4 separate regions of the Homo sapiens genome follow, and regions 1, 2 and 3 are each linked to region 4. Evidence: promoter capture Hi-C in 16 types of primary human blood cells and fetal thymus (Javierre and others, 2016). All regions are on one chromosome and are shown on one strand. The core of a region is centred on a gene start or on the middle of the fragment in contact, and the rest is flanking DNA. Distances in the headings are between cores, read along the strand shown. Region 1 overlaps SLC4A5 (solute carrier family 4 member 5). Region 2 overlaps HK2 (hexokinase 2). Region 3 holds the start of MOB1A (MOB kinase activator 1A). Region 4 holds the start of PCGF1 (polycomb group ring finger 1).

Region 1 (2,700 bases), core at 20-2,519, 270 kb before region 4:
CTCCAACATCTGGTGTCCCAAGACCTTCATCTGTCTACCAATCTGATGAGTATAAAATGGTGTGGCCTCATTCCTCTCTGCAACCGGAAATTCCAGAAGGCAACTGAGCAATTTTTTTTTTTTTTTTTGAGACAGAGTCTCTCTCTGTCGCCCAGGCTGGAGTGCAGTGGCGCAATCTTTGCTCACGGCAAGCTCTGCCTCCCGGGTTCATGCCATTCTCCTGCCTCAGCCTCCCAAGTAGCTGGGACTACAGGCGCCCACCACAACGCCCGGCCAATTTTTTGTATTTTTAGTAGAGACGGGGATTCACCATGTTAGCCAGGATGGTCTCGATCTCCTGCCTTCGTGATCCGCCTGCCTGGGCCTCCCAAAGTGCTGGGATTACAGGCGTGAGCCACTGTGCCTGGCCCAACTGAGCAATTTTTAAGTAATGTGACGGAAAAAATGTTGTTGGCACAAGAATTTCATGCCACATGAATTACTTTTCATCCTGTAGGCAACAGATAGATACTCTCAGATACAGTGACTGCTTGAGAATTTTTACATAAGAGGAGATTGAGGGATGTGCTCTGGACTGGAAGTGGGCAGGAAGGAAGAGAACTTGTCTTGATGGTGCATTTGTGTTGTAAGCAAACTATTTTTTTACTCAGTTTATATACTGTGAAGCTTCCTAAAGCACCTTTTATTTAGTCTTTAGAAAATCTGGGAAAAATTCAACTATTTATTTCAAAGATTTTATCATTATGATTAGTAGCAGTAGCAGCTGTAATACTTAGTTAAGATGGCTTTAGGAGACTGCTAATGGAGTTTACGGTGGGAAAGAGTTGCTTAAATTCTTCCGAGTACCCCCCACCCCACGGCACAGTTACTGCTTATGTATGCAAGTGCTGTTTTCATAAATCTTTTATTCCAGCCACAAACAGGTAGAAAATAAAATTTAAAACAGCAGTTAGGGCTGGGTGCGGTGGCTCACACCTGTAATCCCAGCACTTTGGGAGGCTGAGGTGGGGGGATCACCTGAGGTAAGGAGTTCAAGACCAGCCTGGCCAGCATGGTGAAACCCCGTCTCAACTAAAATTACAAAAATTAGCCGGGTGTGGTGGCAGGCGCCTGTAGTCCCAGCTATTTGGGAGGCTGAGGCAGGAGAATCACTTGAACCCGGGAGGCGGAGGTTGCAGTGAGCCGAGATCATGCCATTTCACTCCCACCTGGGTGACAGAGTGAGACTCTGTCTCAAAAATAATAATAATAATAAAATAATAATAACATAGCAGTTAGCATTTACGACGGTATAAAAAAATCAAGTACCTAGGAATAACTCTAACAAAAAATGTTCAAGACTTAAAGATCAAAATGTATAAAACATTATGGAGAGAAAGAAGACCAAAATAAATGAAGTATACTGTATTCATAAATCAGAAAAACTCAAAATTTGAAAGACGTTAATTCTTCCCAAACAGAGGCAAAGATAATCCCATCAAAATTCCAACAAGTTTTCATTTTGGTGAAATTTAAGATGATTCTAAAATTCATGTGGAAATGCAAAGGGCCAAGAAAATATTATATAAAAAGGACAAAAGGGGAGAGCTTGGGAGACAAAGATATAAAGACTTATAAGCTACAGAAATGAAGACTGTGATACTGATATATAAATAAACTAGTGAAACAGAATAAAGAACCCAGAAACAGACCCTGTCATATAGGAATATTTGATATATGGCAAAGGAAGTATTGCAAAGCAATGGAGAAAGAATAGTCTTTAAAAAATACTGGAACAATTGACTATATAAAATCACAAAGAAACACTGTCTCACAGTACACATCAGAATCAATTCTGATGGATTGTAGATCTAACATGAAAGGAAAAACAATGAAGCTTTTAGAAGGTAACATACAAGAATATCTGCTGTCCAATATTTGCCTTGAGGAAAGTTTGATATATTCAATTACAATAAAACTAAGAATTTCTGTTAATCAAAAGATGCCATTAAGGATGTAAAAAGAAAAAAACAGTCACAGAGTGGGAGAAGATTTTGCAACACATATAATCACAAAAACATTTCTACCCAGAATATATAACAAACTCTTGCAAATCAGAAAGGCAGACAACCCAAAATGTGCAAGAGATTTCAACAGACACTTCCAAAAAGAAAGGCAATTGGGCATGTGGCCAATAAACACAGGAATAGCTGTATTTTCAACTTCATTAGTCATCAGGGAAATGAAAAATTTAAAAAACACAATGAGATACTACTATAGACAAAGACTAAAGATAAAAGCCTGACAATACCAAGTGTTGTCAAGGGGACCAGCCAACAAGGGAACACAGTTCTCTCTGACTTAACTTGAAAAACCCCAGTGGGCCAGTGCTCGCATGGAGTCCATCCTGTCGGTGGACCAGAACCCTCTCTGGGGGACTCAGCAGCTGTCTGACTGCAGGTCCCCTCCTAACTGCAGGGTGAGCTTACCTTGGTAGGAAAATAGCGGCTGAATTTGAACTTCTTCAGGGTCAGGGTCATGGAGTATGTCCCAAAGAAAAGGATGAAGGACATGAGCGCCAGGTCTGGGATAAACTTGCAGGAATTCCCAAGCAGGCGCCCGCCGTAGCTCAGACACTCCTTCTTGCTCAGCAGGGACCAGTCCAACGCTGTGAGGTTAAGGAGGTTGTACTTGGAGACCAAGCACAGGAGAGAATGGGTC
Region 2 (2,700 bases), core at 134-2,633, 370 kb after region 4:
ATTTTGTATGCGATCTGCTGCTTTGGGGGTTTTTAGATTATCAAATGGATAAATAATCTTAGCCTTGGCACAAGAAAAGCTCTTTAGTTCTTAACCTGAAGAAGACTTGAATGTGATTTCCAAGTAAGAAAGTTGGAATGATGTTGACATGGGAGTGGAATGGCTCAGAGAGAGAATGAATTAAAAGTCTTATCACAGGAGGAGTTATGGGGAGGGAGGGGGGAGAGAGAGAGAAGGAGGAGGAGGAGGAGGAGGAGTGATATATAGCTGGTGTTAGGAAAGTCGCCCTCTGTGATGATGAAGGTCAGAGCCCTCCCATTTGTCTCCACAGGACTTTGATATCGACATTGTGGCTGTGGTGAATGACACAGTTGGGACCATGATGACCTGTGGTTATGATGACCACAACTGTGAGATTGGTCTCATTGTGGGTGAGTGAACACCGTGCATGAAGGGCCCGTGCTGGCCAAGGGATGGGGGTGTGGGCTGGAAAGGGAGAAGGGGCCCATGGGCTGGGTGTTCCTTTGTAGTTCATATTAGAAGATAATGGTCCAGTCACTTTGGAGAGCCGAGCAGGGACTCATGGAGTTGGGGGTGGCAGAAGATTAGACCATGTATTGTGATGCCCCCAGAGTCTGCAGTGAGAAATCCCAGCCATCCTGGCCGGGCAGTCTCGGGACAGTAGTATAAGAGGGAAGAGGGGTGGGAAGGGGCCGGAGCAGGCGTGTGCATAGCCGTCCCTTGTTTTGGCAGGCACGGGCAGCAACGCCTGCTACATGGAAGAGATGCGCCACATCGACATGGTGGAAGGCGATGAGGGGCGGATGTGTATCAATATGGAGTGGGGGGCCTTCGGGGACGATGGCTCGCTCAACGACATTCGCACTGAGTTTGACCAGGAGATTGACATGGGCTCACTGAACCCGGGAAAGCAACTGTGAGTAGGCCCTTCCTGTGCGAGTGGGCTTGGCGGGGGCCTGGAGCTGAGTCTGGGGCTGGTCGGGGCCAGGGGGTTGTTTCTTTACAGTCTTACATCCCCAAAGCTTGCCAAGGTGGCCACTGGTCATAGGAATGTCTGTGACTATAAATTGCTGAGAGGATCTAAAACAGAGAGCAAGCGGATATACCAGATTATAGCTAATAATGTGTTTCCTTCACAGGAGTCATTTTGGAAGGTTCTATTCTGAGTGTAAGTGGGTGGCCCTGCTCTTTCTTTCCACCTTCTATTTGTAAATTGTCCATGGGAACTGTGAGCCACCTAAGGAAAGTTGTGTTGAGGTGGCCAAGATTGGGGTCTCTGAAAGCTCCTTTCATAGCTCCAACTCCATCACCACCCAGAGGACAGGCTGACAGCTGGCTGCTCATTGCTGCTCCCTGGGGTCCCAGGGCCTCCTGCTGCAGCTGCAGGCAGACCCATGGCCCCTGGAGACATTGGCTGAGGAGCTTCCTTGGCCTCCTTCACTTGGACCTTGGCCCAACTATGTCCTGGGATGGATTGGAGGAGGGGCGTCTAGCATTTTGGATCCTGAATATTGTATTCTCCAGCCTGGCCTGCCTTTGTTTTTAGTTGCTTTTATCTCTTACAAAACCTTATTTCACCCTCACAAACATTTGCCAAATGTGCGTGTGAAAGATCTTGAAACAGGGATTGCTTCAAGGTCTGAAGCAGTTGCAAAATATTTTGAGCAATACAGATCATCTCTGGTCTTGTGACTGTTGTAGAAAAGCTTTTCGTGCAGATCTCTACTTGGACAGGAAAATTGAACCCTATAAATCAAGTCAGTGGTGGGTAACCCAGGAGAGTCCTTGCTTTCGTTTTTTTTTTTTTTTTTTTGAGACAGAGTCTCTCTCTGTTGCCCAGGCTGGTGTGCAATGGCGCAATCTTGGCTCACCGCAATCTCTGCCTCCCGGGTTCAAGCGATTCTCCTACCTCAGCTTCCTGAGTAGCTGGGATTACAGGCGCCTGCCACCACGCCCAGCTAATTTTTGTATTTTTATTAGAGACAGGGTTTCACCATGCTGGCCAGACTGGTCTCGAACTCCCGACCTCAGGCGGTCCGCCCTCCTCGGCCTCCCAAAGTGCTGGGATTACAGGCGTGAGCCACCGCGCCCGGCCTGAGAGTCCTTGCTTTGTCAAAGCATGGTTTATTTATCTAAGTCACAAGCTTGTTTCACATGTTGAAATGAGTCCTTTACTTGAAATTTCTGAGGATCATACTGGTTGTGTCTGCCATGGCTGATGAGAGGTTTATGAGCTGAAAAGTCACTCAGTGCCTGCCTCCATGAATGAGGCACACCCAAGTCATTCCGAGGAACTAAAGGCCCTTTCAAATGTCAAAAGACAAATTTGCCAGCCAGACCATGACAGCACACCCCCGGCTTATCCTTTGACACCCACCAAATTGTCATCCATGGTAGCCCTGAAGTCACTACAGACAATTTTTGTCCCCTCTAATATATTTCCAAGTAAGTATCTTCCAAATGTTGACTGGAACAAAGTGTTTTTAAAAACTAGAATAAAAACTTAGCAACACGGAGTTCCTTACTGTTGAAGCCAGGCTCCCATCCACGCTGGTTTCCTTCTCCTGAAGCTCTGCCTGTGTGGGTGCACTAACATTTAAAATGCGCGCTGTCATCTTCACAATTTTGCCAGCTCTCAGTTAGCCCTGATGCTGCTGTACTCGGCCTTGGGTCTTGAGC
Region 3 (2,700 bases), core at 111-2,610, 330 kb before region 4:
TTTAGAGACCATTCATTTACGAGAATAACCCAAAGGAAGGAAAATGAGACGCAGATAAACATATTCTGAGTAGTGCTATTTTATAATAGTAAATACTGGAAGGAATCCCAGTTTCTCACAATAAAGTGGGTAAACTCTGGTTATAAAAAATAAAAAAAAAACTATATAGTGTTTTTATATTGTATTTAATAAAAATGTCAAGCATGTGGATTACATCCATAACTAAAATTGGATAATTATTCAATCACAAAACACACATTTAAGCAATATACAAGGTAGAGAGAGACACCTGAGAATAAAAAATACTGTGCCAGAGCAATGCTTCTCAAACCTTAATGTGCATAAGAATCATCAGGGAATTTACAAGCTTTTTCATTTTAGCCTTGTTTGGTTGGGCTCAGGCATTATCTCTAAAATGAGATTCTAAGGTATGCCTATCAAGTTAATTGCTGTAGTGCACTAAAATGGCAATACTGTGTTTCTGCAATGGGACTATGAATTTGTTTTAACTTTCCAAATTATTTATAATACTGCAATGTACTATATAATAATGCTGTATGGTATATTACATAATGATTAAAAACACAGGATTCTACCGAGGACAAGAGAAGTTGGTTAAAATCAAAGCCAGTAAGTGGGCAGAATCAGAACTGGACAGAACGATCCGACTCCAAGGCCAGCATCTTAACTTCAAGCTTCTCAAACTGCGGCAACGCACATTCTCCTGGGGCGGCATTTAACACCGACAATAATGAAACTGGACCTATAACCGAGCAACGAGTTAAGTCGGCAAGGACGGTTTCTAGAAGCTCGAGACAAGAGAAACTGGGGGCTCGCGGCTCCGCCCCCAGATCGTCTCCCCGCCCTCGGGGGCGCTCGGGCGGAAAAGTTTGGAGGCGCGACGGCCCCGGGGCCTTTCTACTCCCCAGCCTTCACGCTCCGTTTCCTTTACTTCGACCTTCATCTCTGTCGGCCTCTCCCAACATCTCGGCCTCCCCCGCGGACCCGAACAGAGGCAAAACAAACGCCAGCTACCCCGCCCCCGCCTCGGCCCCCAGGCCGAGCCCTCGCCTCAGGTCCGGGGAGGCCTCCCCCACAACCTCGGCCCGCAGGCCCGGCGCCCGCGGCCCGACCCCACTCACAAGAGGAAGCTCATCTTCGGTCCTCAGAGGGGAGGCGAGGGGCCCCTGGCCCCCGCCTGGATCAGGATTCGGAGCTGGCTAGAGGGAGCGGACCGTCCTTAGCTCACGGGCAGCGGAAGCCGGGCCGCCGCCGCTCGGAGCCGGGTTTCTGGCCGCTGCGAGCCTTTGCAAACCTCGGCGCCCGCCTTGCCCGCCTACCCCACCTCGCAGACCCGAAATGCGGAACCAACAAAATCTCGCGAGCTAAGGTTTCGCTGCGCCGGGAGGGACTTGTCGCGCCCCCTTTCGCTCCGCCTCGTCCTAGAACTCGGCCAATCATCGCTCTCCAAGCCAGGACCTCCCTCCCCCGGAGGCGTGGCGAGGATGGCGGTCCTGCGGAAGGGGCAGTGGCTGGTCCTGCTCTTAGAGTATCTTGGTGCTGCTGGGTTTCGATCCCGCTCCCTAGGTTATGCAGGGACCTCTATAAGCGCTGCGTACTCCTGCAATTTTTAAAATTGTTAATTTAATTTTTACTTGAAATATATTCACATAGCATAAAATCTGTCCTTTAAACATGTACCCTCTAGTGGTCTTTTTCGGTTTTTTCTTTCTTTTTTTTTTTTTTTTCTGAGGTGTCTCGCTCTGTCGCCCAGACTGGAGTTCACAGTTCACTGCAGCCTGGACTTCCTGGGCTTAAGTGATCCTCTCGCCTCAGCCTCCCGAGTAGCTGAGACCACAGGTGCCTGCCACCACGCCCGGCTAATTTTCTCAAAGTTTTTGCAGAGACGAGCGTCTCACTGTGTTGCCCAAGCTGGTCTTGGACTCCTGAGCTCAAGGGATCCTCCTGGTTTGACCTCCCAAAATGCTGGGATCACAGGTGTGAGCCACTGCCTCCGGCTTTGTTTATGTTTTCAAAGTGTGCCAACCATCAGCACTAATTTTTTTTTTTTTTTTGACAGAGTCTCACTTTGTAACCCAGGCTGGAATGCAGTGGTGCAATCTCGGCCCGTTGCAACCTCTGCCTTCCAGATTCAAGTGATTCTCATGCCTCAGCCTCCCGAGTAGCTGGGATCACAGTCGTGCGCCACCACACCCGTCTAATTTTTGTATTTTTTTTTTTTTTTTTTTTTAGTAAAGACGGGGTTTCGCCATGTTGGCCAGGCTGGTCTCGGTCTTGAACTCCTGACCTCAAGTGGTCCACCCGCCTCGGCCTCCCAAAGCTGGGATTACAGGCGTGAGCCACCGCGCCCAGCCTAACCATAATTTTAGGCCATTTTCATCACCCCGAAAAGAAACCCCATACCTATTAGCAGTTACTCTTTATTACCCACCTCCCTCCTCCCAACCCCTGGCAACCACTACTCTACTTTCTATTTCCATGGATTTACCTAATCTGGACATTTCATATACACTGTGAATGGAAGCATACATTATGTGGTCTTTTGTGACTGACTTCTTTCACTTAGCATAATGTTTTAAAACGCACCCATATTGTAGCATGTATCAAAGCTTCATTACTGGCCAGGCACAGTTGTGGCTTACGCCTGTAATCCCAGCACTTTGGGAGTCTGAGGCTGGC
Region 4 (2,700 bases), core at 20-2,519:
AAATTAGCTGGGCATGGTGGTGGGCGCCTGTAGTCCCAGCTACTCAGGAGGCTGAGGCAGGAGAATGGCATGAATCCAGGAGGTGGAGCTTGCAGTGAGCTGAGATTGCGCCACTGCACTCCAGCCTGGGCAAGACTCCGTCTCAAAAAAAGAAAAAAAAGAATAAAGTATTAGCCCTTCCTCACTTTTTGTCCTTCCCTCATCTTTGGCCTTCTGCCTACGTGAGTCCTACCAAACCCGTCACCTCAAGCTGCCACTCAGCAATTAGTCCTCAAGAGGCCCCTCAAAGTCAGGTTGGTGACTCACTGTCTTGCAAGCCAGGCACCAGCTTATACACGATGTCCTGCATGACCCGGTCCAGTTTGAGGTTGAGCAGTGGCTGTGTCTCGTGGATCTTAATGTTGCACATGGGGCAGTACTTGCTAGTTTGGAGGTACTTCACAATACAACTCTTGCAGACTGCAGGAAAAGAAAAGCAGATTCTCAGGCCCTCTGGAAACTGGATTCATGGGCTGGGTGGGGTGCCTGGATGCGTGAGGCAGGCCGCACAGAAGCTGGCAGTCAGCTTGGTGAAGACTAGGGACTGGAAGAACTAGGCAGTCTCCAAGGCACTCACAAGTATGAAGACACTCTGTGATGGTGGTGGCATCCACGAAGTAGCCGGCGCATAGGCAGCAAACAATGTGTTCATTCAAGTCTTTGATCTTCACTCGAACCTCCTCCTGAAGATACACCCTCCGTCACCAATCATCCACCCTCAAACCCCAACCCGTGCGCCTTCCCACCTTGGGGGTCGCCTCCTTCATCACACTAGACGGCCAAGCCCCGCGCCCTGCGCCATCAGCCGGGGATTAGCTCCTGGGGGCTGGCACTCCCCCTCCGCCCAGCAGAGGGCTCCGCGCACAGCGGGGGCTTCCCTCACGTGGACTCGCCTGACCCTCCTTTCCCAGGGGAGACTACACAACGTCGGCGACACAACGCGCAGGCGTCCTAACCGGAGTTTGGCAACCCGATCGCAACCACGCAGGCGCACTGGGCACTCTGTCTCTGCGCAGGCGCACTGGGCGCCCGGCCAGCCACCGCCCGTCCTTTAGCCCGCCCCAATTCGCACCGCTGGCCGACCACAGCAGTAACCCTGCCGCCCTTGCACCTCGTTCCGTAGCGGGTCCATCTTGTACACTGACTGGAGCTGGTTCCGAAGCCTCATCGCGATCGCAATCTGGCCCCCCTGAGGAGACGCCATCTTAAAGGCTGATCCCAGCCGGCCACTTCCGGTGCCGCCTGCAGGGCGGGACTTGTCTCCCAGCAACGAGGTTCTAGGTCTTTTCGGATTCGCTCACCCTCTGTAAGGCCCCGCCCACGTCCCTTTCTCCCTGTGTGCTCACCTGAGCCCCACCGGCCCCTCCCCTGCTCAATCCGTAATTAAGGAGTGGGGGGGGGGGAGCACAGGGAAGGGTCTTATCTCTTCAACCTCCTGTAGAAATCATCATAATAGGCCCTACGCGACCTCAAGACTAACTTTCGGAGCCTGCGAAAGACTGCCCCCTCCTACCCCCAAAGGCCTGGCAGTCTGTGCCCGCTACCCGCTCAGGGTCGTCGGTCTTCTGTGACGACGACCCTGCTGAAGAAGCCCCTCCTGGGTCCTCTCCTCGTAATGCCGCCCTGTCGGCGTCCGCGTAGCGGAGCTTCGTCCAGATGGCGGGTCTTCTCCCGGCTTCACGGAGGGAGTTTCTTGGGCTTTGCAGAGTCTCGGAGAGGGTGCCGGGGGATGGGGAGTGAGAGACCCCCAGGGACTTGGTAGTGATCTTATTCCCCCATTCTCCCCCCTGCTGCCGGGGATGGGGGGGGCAGGCCCTGGTTAATGATGATGATTTAATCATCGGCGCCTGCGGAGGCCTGGGACAGACTAATGCAGAGCAGATGCCGAAGGAGGAGGGGAGGACGACTAGGACACTGCCACACACAGACAGGCTTAGGCAGCGAGCGCCTGTAGTAGCATAGGCCCAGTCCCGCACTTGGGGACTACGCGGGGTGCTCGCTCGAGAGCTCTACACCGCCGGCTCTGGGTACTTAAAAAGGGATAAATTTGCTATGAGGTATTAACATCAAATGCAACTGGAGATACGAGAAGGGAGAGATTCCAATGGAGACCTCAAAAAAGGCTTTCTGGAGAAAGTGGGACTTTGGGCACAATTTAGACTTGGGGGAGGGGGTGGAAGTGTGGTGAAATAGAAAGGACGTGGAGGGGAATGACCAGAGGACAGGAAGGTCAAGATGTAGATTTGAGAGTGGTAATAGAAAAAGCAGGGCCATAAAGAGTTGCGATTTTTAGCCTGAGGGCAATTGGGAGCTAGCGGACTTTTTTGAAGGGAGGTTATCCTGTGAAAGCGACATTTTTGTTCATTTCTCTTCAGAGTGAATTGAAGTGAATATGCAGCAAGAAGTTATGAGATTAGTGATTAATCAATTATTCGTTACAGCCCCTGTTTACCTACTTCCCTGGTCCGAGCCACTATCATCTGTCCTCTGTAGTGGCCTCTTGACTGTTTTCCTTGAGTCCCCCTTCGCCTGTTCTCAACATCACAGTTGAGTGCTGTTTCTCAGAGCTAGTGATTCTGATAAAACATGAAACACAAAGGACAAAGGACAATTTTTGAGATGTGGATATGTTTATTATTTTTATGGTGATGATGGTATCAT

What was found. The method cuts DNA at HindIII sites, captures the fragments that hold promoters and counts their contacts. A CHiCAGO score of 5 or more calls a contact.
Region 1: a contact is called between a fragment that was not itself captured here and the fragment with the promoter of PCGF1 in region 4, in 1 of 17 cell types (activated CD4 T cells). The highest score is 6.5, in activated CD4 T cells.
Region 2: a fragment that was not itself captured here is called in contact with the fragment with the promoter of PCGF1 in region 4 in 2 of 17 cell types (M0 macrophages and naive B cells); the score reaches 5.6 in M0 macrophages.
Region 3: a contact is called between the fragment with the promoter of MOB1A here and the fragment with the promoter of PCGF1 in region 4, in 3 of 17 cell types (total CD8 T cells, activated CD4 T cells and fetal thymus). The highest score is 7.1, in total CD8 T cells.

The regions. Positions count from the first base shown.
Region 1 is chr2:74,236,867-74,239,566 of GRCh38, forward strand. SLC4A5 (solute carrier family 4 member 5) reads right to left here. Exons shown (of 31, transcript NM_133478.3): 21 at 2,469-2,669. Among named protein-coding and RNA genes, the nearest start is that of MTHFD2, 40 kb to the left of the region's middle. The HindIII fragment of the contact is 1,210 bases long and covers 665-1,874 here.
Region 2 is chr2:74,873,513-74,876,212 of GRCh38, forward strand. HK2 (hexokinase 2) reads left to right here. Exons shown (of 18, transcript NM_000189.5): 6 at 332-431; 7 at 754-937. Among named protein-coding and RNA genes, the nearest start is that of LINC01291, 34 kb to the right of the region's middle. The HindIII fragment of the contact is 684 bases long and covers 1,042-1,725 here.
Region 3 is chr2:74,177,519-74,180,218 of GRCh38, forward strand. It overlaps MOB1A (MOB kinase activator 1A), which reads right to left and starts at 1,361. Exons shown (of 6, transcript NM_018221.5): 1 at 1,143-1,361. The coding sequence starts at 1,156. RefSeq lists an enhancer at 386-1,069 and a silencer at 933-1,122. The HindIII fragment of the contact is 1,935 bases long and covers 694-2,628 here.
Region 4 is chr2:74,506,426-74,509,125 of GRCh38, forward strand. It overlaps PCGF1 (polycomb group ring finger 1), which reads right to left and starts at 1,270. Exons shown (of 9, transcript NM_032673.3): 1 at 1,151-1,270; 2 at 617-722; 3 at 307-459. The coding sequence starts at 1,243. RefSeq lists enhancers at 533-1,463, 1,100-1,279, 2,020-2,079. The HindIII fragment of the contact is 5,812 bases long and covers 1-2,700 here.